Linked DNA regions of Homo sapiens: region 1 is linked to region 2. Evidence: promoter capture Hi-C in 16 types of primary human blood cells and fetal thymus (Javierre and others, 2016). All regions are on one chromosome and are shown on one strand. The core of a region is centred on a gene start or on the middle of the fragment in contact, and the rest is flanking DNA. Distances in the headings are between cores, read along the strand shown.

Region 1 (2,854 bases), core at 284-2,783, 350 kb before region 2:
TGCTGGGCAGGTGGTAGGCCCGGCTCCTGCTCGGGGGTTGAGGGGGAGCTCTGTCCAGGAGAAAGCAGCCGTGTGGAACTCACACATAAAAATGATGCTGGCACCCCAGGGGCCTCCAGTGTGGGCTGTAAAACCACCGAGACAGATTCAGGCCAGCAGGCGTCAAGTCCTCAGATGGAGTGTTTGCGAAATGCTCAGATGTGTGTTCAGGTAAGCACCCGTCTGGCCCCTCTGACCCATTTCACAGAGCACTTTGGAGAAAGGATTTCAGGTGTGTTCTGAATGGAGCCAGGATGGGTTCAGGCTGGTGCTGCCATTCATGATCAGAGGCTCTGAGCACGTGACATGCTCCCACGCCCAGCCCGAGTGCCTGGTAGGGTTGGGCTGGGTCCTTGGCAAGCCCCCTTCCCTCTCTGAGCTTCATTTTCTCCAAATGGAAATGTGGGGAGAGGTGTCGACTAGGCCCTTAAGGAGCTGGAGTTGAGTATGTATGTGTGGGGGCCGTAGGGGTGGGGAGGACAGAGGGAAGAACTTGGAGGGGTTCATGGACCTGAGGCCTGGGCCACAGCTGGGGGAGTCCGGTGCATTTGTAACACATGGAAATGGGGTTGGAATCAACCTGCTCCCCTGCCGTCACCCCTGTCTCTGCAAGCTTTGGAGGCCAGGCCTCTGCCCCACCTGCTGAGAGGCGACGTGAGCTTCCTCTTCCGAGGAGTGAGATAAAAGTCCAGTGGGCCGGCCCCATCCACCCTGGGCTGGGCTCTAATTGCTGGCCCTTGTTCCTTATCAGCCCCTGACTCCTGCCAGTCCCCGCCCACCTTCTGCCCTGTCTTGCTCTGCGTTATAGACTCATTTCACGCAATTGCACCAGAAAAATCTCAGGAACAGACTCATGTTTTCTGTCAGCTTCCCCCAGCACACCTGCGGCCAGTTGGACACGCAGCTCTACCTCTATGCTGGTTCCTCCTGATGCCCACGCAAAGGTGGGCAACAGTCCCTGCCCAGACTCCCCTTTTTCTGGAGCATGAGAAGGGTTAATCAGGTGTGTCTCACACGTCTGTCCCTGCCCTGCCCCTGTGGGTGGGGAGGAAGTCCCCAGGAAACATGGGGGAGCTGACATCCCAGAGCCTCCAGCCAGGAGACTGGGCTGAGCTAGGCTGTTCATCCTGGCAGGGATCTGGGGGGGATTTAGAATGGAGAAAGACCCGCAGGGGTGGGAGCCCGGGCCAGGCCTGGCCTTGGGAGCATCCATCACACAGAGGCGGAGCCATGGACTGGCCCATAAGTCCAGGGGGGAGACATAAAACTGGGGGGTCATAAGACTGAGGAGAGCCATAGGATGGGGGAGCCCATAGGGCTTAGGGGGATCCACAGGATGGGGAGGTGGGGCCTGTAGGACCTGGGAGGAGACATAGGATGGGGGGGATTTGACAGGGGGGGGTCTATAGTATAGAGGGGCTATAGGACCCAGGGGAGCCATAGGATTGCCGGGGATAGTATGGGGAGGCCATAGGACAGGCTGGGGAGCCAGCTGACAGAGTCCTGCGGGCAGGCAGTGCTGTCCGGGGCAGGCTGTTCCTGGGGAAGGAGCCCTCACAGCACCGGGCAGCGCATTGCTGAGGGCTGCCGTGGCCACAGTCATCCTCGCAGTTACTGGCGTTTAGAGGGTGCATTCACCGTGCTAGGCCCAAATGAAGCGTCTGCGAGGAGGGTCTCCTCGAACCTGCCTGTAACTGAAGCGTCTGCGGGGAGGGTCTCCCCGAACCTGCCTGTGGGCTGTGGTTGCTCTGCACCTCTCCTTGGCCTGCTTAGGAGCCTCGATCCTCTGATCCTGGTTTTGGTATGAATTGAACAATGCTTTCTGCGGGGACAGCCAGCTCCCCATCTCAGTGTCGTGACACAGCAGAGACACGCTTCTCACCATGCCAGGTCCCTCAGGGCACGGCTGACCAGGGCGAGGCTCTGCTCCCAAGGGTGACCCCAAGCCCCAGTCCCTCCCACTTGCAGGATCTGCCATCTTTAACACGTGGTTTCCACATTTTCGAGAAGAGGAAAGAGCGTGAGGGCTGCTGGGGGTGTCCTGGAGATGACACGTGTCCCCCCACCACATTTGGTTGGTGGGACCTTCCTCATCGAGTGGCCCCTAACCCTAGGGACTGCTGGACACTCTGGGCGTCTCGATTTTCTCTTTAAACAGAGTGGTGTCAGGAGCAGCAAGGAGTGCTCTGCCTTCAGGAGCCAAAGCCCCTGATAGACTGCATGGGGTCTATGGAGCCCAGCAACAAGGGCCACTCTGCAGCCAGGGAGCTCTTGCCCCCACAGGGAGCAGGAAAGGGGAGGGCGAGCATGGGCACTCAGCTGAGGAAGACGGAAGCCCTGGGCTCCTCTGGAATCTGGCCACGGGCAAAGCTTCCTCATTTGTTCTAAAGCAGCAAGATATTCACAGCCCTTCGGATGTGCCCATTTCACAGTGGAACGTACCAGAACCTTCCAAACCCAGGTGCCCAGGCAGAGCAAAGTGGGGTTAATCTGCCCCATGGAGGCAACAGGGCCGCCACTGTGGCCCCTCGCCATGGTCCCTCAGTGAAGAAAGGCAGAGAAGGAGGTCCCAGGCCCCAGTGCAGAGCAGGTGGCCCAGGGACACCCAGACAGGAGGAGGGACACCGTGCTGGCCTGGGAAGCCACCCCACCGTGCATGCCTCCCCAAGTCCCCTGCCGTGCATGTCCCCCTTCCCTCCCTAACCCCCTACCGGGGGAGGAGAGGAAAGGTGCCTTCCCAGTCACAAGCACCTGCTGGGAGCTCCAGGTGTTCTTGGCTTGGCCCCACATGGGGGCACTGGTTTCTCCAGATAAG
Region 2 (3,139 bases), core at 3-2,502:
GAACACCTCACAGAGGGGGGCGGCTTCCTCCCTCCCTCCCAAGCAGGGATGAGTCGGCCCAAGGGTGCCTGAAGCACGCGGAGGGTCCAGAGAAGATAATCTGGCTTTCTGGGGCTGGAAGAGTGTGGCCCGGGTATTGGCCCCGCGAGGCCCGGGCTAACAGTGGGGACCACACCTGCACCGGTGGAGAAGCCATGGAGGGCTGGGTGGTGGGCGGTGGGTCCACCTGCGAGGTCCAGAAGCCCCAGGGCGGCTCAGAGGCTCCAGCCCCAGGCCGGGGGGGCCACTCCCAGCGGCACAGGCAGCTTCGCTTCCCAGGAGGGCCCCGGGGAAGCAACACCGTTTTTTCCTGCCCAAGCTGGACCCCCTCCAGGACACCAAGGCTGTCAGATGCGGGGGGCCAAAGTCAGCGCTTCCTATTCCGTGAAGGTCCAGGTTGGCCACAGACAGGACTGGACAGACCCGGCGGTCAGGTGGTCCCAGTGATAAGGAGTGGGGTGAGGGCATCCCCGCCAGGTGCAGCCGCGGGCATTAGTACCATTCCTCTTCCTTCCACACCCTCAGAAAGGCACCAGAGAACAGTGAAACAAGATAAACACCCCACAAAAAACTAGGGGGAAGGTGCAATTCCTCCCGTTAGTATCCACGTGCAGAAAAGCCCCGCTCCTCCACAGTCAGGGAGACCCGGGACCATTATGACCCCCGCGCAAAGGCGCCTATGGCGGGGGCTGAGCCAGAGCCAGACGCCAGGGCTGCCCCCGAAAACCCGGGTCTTTCCGCCCCTGCGCCGCCACCGCCAACCGGCCCCTCCCACGGCGCTCTCCGTCCGTCCCGGCCCAGGTGTCTGCCATCCCCGCCCTGGCCACCAGGCTGAAGCCACGAGGATGGGGCGGGGCAGCGCTGGGTCCCCCGGCCCGGCCACCTACCTCCGTCCCGCCGGCCGCTCCTCCCGCGCCGCCCCTAGAGCATCTCCCGCCGGCCAAGCCTCCTCCCGGCCAGGTCCGGGGCGATGCACAGACTCGGTGAAGGAAACAGAGCAGGGGAAAAGGTCTTCCGGAGGACGGCAGTGCAGAAGAGGAGGGTGGGGGGCGGTACGAGCAGCCACAGGTCCCCCCCACCCACAGCACCTCCGTCTCCCCGGCGCGGTCTCCGAGGTCTCTGCGACCAGAAGCGGAAGCGCGGTTTCTCGAAAGTAAAGGAAGAGAGGGAGAAAGTGGGACAGACGCGCAAGGAGCGAAGCCCAGCCAGATGTGAGCAGCGAGGAGCCTCCAACACCCCCAGCGCTTTTCGTCCAAACAGCAGCCGCGGAGGATTAACCGTGTGTGCCCCGCGCCGCGCCTCAGGGAAATCCAGCGGCCGCCTCCTCCCGGCCCCCTGGGGAGCCCGCCAGGCTGAGAGTGGGGGTGGGGCAGATTCCGTGAGTCTGGAGGTCCGTCCAGAGGCGGAGGGGCTGCGAGCCCCGGACGAGAATGCCCCCCGCAGGATGGGGGTGCCCAGCAAGGCTGAGCGCTCCTAGTCACTTGGTAGCAGAGGGATGAGCCCCAAGGCCTCCGGGATCCGCTGTGGCCAACCCTGAGGGGTCAGGTCTCCAAACAGTGGCAGACCTGAGACGCCCTGTGCATTATCGGGGACTCAGACAGGTTTGGGGGAATCTGTGAACCCCCTATAACAAAATGCCAAACTGTGTGTGTGTGTGTGTGTGTGTGTGTGTGTGTGCGCGCGCGCGCATCACCTTTGGAAGGTGATGGTCCACTGTTTTGTTCAGAGTCTTGAGAGCTCTGTGATCTAAAGGTTAGGAAGGAGCCCCTGCCGGGAAGATTTCCATTTTCTAGAGAACAGCACGAGTACAGTGGTGAGCCCAGGATGGCTGGAAGCACTCCTCAGTCTCTATCAGGCCTCTCATTCCTTGATATGAAAACCTGACATTTTCTCAGTCATACACAAATATTTTTTCTGAACAAGGCCCGTAGGCTGCCCTCCCATCCTGATCCCTGATCCAGGCTGCTCCAGAGCCGGCCCTGGTTGGGACCCAGTCTCCATCCCTAGACTCTGCGTCAGCCCAGCTTGCTCTGGAAACTTACCATATCACTAGCAGGGGAAGGATTTGGCCAGAGAAGCAGAAGCCAGCTCTGATGATAACAGCATTCCCCCTTTTTTTGCTTCTTTTTTCCCCCCTCTGCCCTGTTCTCTCCGAGCTGCCCCTCACCTCGATGTTGCAGCTGGATTTTTTTGTTTTGTTATCCCTCCTGTGAGGGTCTGTCTCTGGACAAACAGGAGATGCGAAAATGGGGATGCTGGTTGGGACATTCAGAGCAAAACTAAGAGGCCTCACCTTTCCCTGCCTGGAGTGTCCTCCCATCCGCCGCACCAACAACTGGACAGATGAAAAGAATCAAAAAGGAGAGGAAGAAGAGGGTGCAAGCACAATGCCCACTGCCTTGCCCCAGGCTGGGCGAGGCCAGCACTCAGGTAGAGCTGAGGACAAATGGAGATGAGAACAGAAGGGGAGGCTTCCGGGCAGGCGAGGCGCCCAAAAGCCACTCCACAGAGGCCCTGACTGCATGCGTCAACCCCTCCTGTGAGTACAGGGAGAAAGGCTGCCAGGCCTCCAGCACCCAGGGGGAACTCAGAGGACACGATGGGGATATGAAGTCAACACTACTTAACCAACTAGAGATGCAGCCTCCGCTAGGCTTAGAAGATCAGGGGTTGCTTGTGTTCTTGGCATACGTGTCTGAGGCTTGGCAAAACCTACATCCCTGGTTGCTTATTGATACAGGAAAAGCCAGAGATAAGCTTGTCTCCATTCCTGTAAGTGACATGAGGAAGTTTCCCAGTCACCAGGAGCAAGGCTTAGCACACGGACTGACCTTTCCTTAGTTACTCTGTCCTCAAATAGCCCTTGGTGCAGGGATACCAGAGAAAACAACAGCATTTTTTGCAGCCCTTATGAGACCTTCGTCCATACTTCAGAGAATCTGGGACTTTCTAGAACTCTTACGAGCTAGGAAATCCCTCAGTGCAATGAGAAGGCTTCTTGTTGCCCTGCCTGGGAGCCTCAGACTCAGGAAAGTCGTGGGCAGATACCAGAATTCACAAAGCGGGACACACAGCTTGAAAGAGAAAGAGATGCAGATGA

The links. Contacts are between HindIII fragments. The CHiCAGO score rates a contact against its expected background, and 5 or more counts as called.
Region 1: a contact is called between a fragment that was not itself captured here and the fragment with the promoter of C1QTNF1 in region 2, in 1 of 17 cell types (M0 macrophages). The highest score is 5.3, in M0 macrophages.

Annotation. Positions count from the first base shown.
Region 1 is chr17:79,370,895-79,373,748 of GRCh38, reverse strand. All of the region lies in intron 2 of RBFOX3 (RNA binding fox-1 homolog 3), which reads left to right. Among named protein-coding and RNA genes, the nearest start is that of RBFOX3, 240 kb to the left of the region's middle. RefSeq lists a silencer at 1-15. The HindIII fragment of the contact is 1,757 bases long and covers 655-2,411 here.
Region 2 is chr17:79,022,282-79,025,420 of GRCh38, reverse strand. C1QTNF1 (C1q and TNF related 1) reads right to left here and starts at 1,252. Exons shown (of 4, transcript NM_030968.5): 1 at 927-1,252. The region is part of intron 1 of C1QTNF1-AS1 (C1QTNF1 antisense RNA 1); the gene reads left to right. RefSeq lists a silencer at 831-920. The HindIII fragment of the contact is 3,178 bases long and covers 1-2,798 here.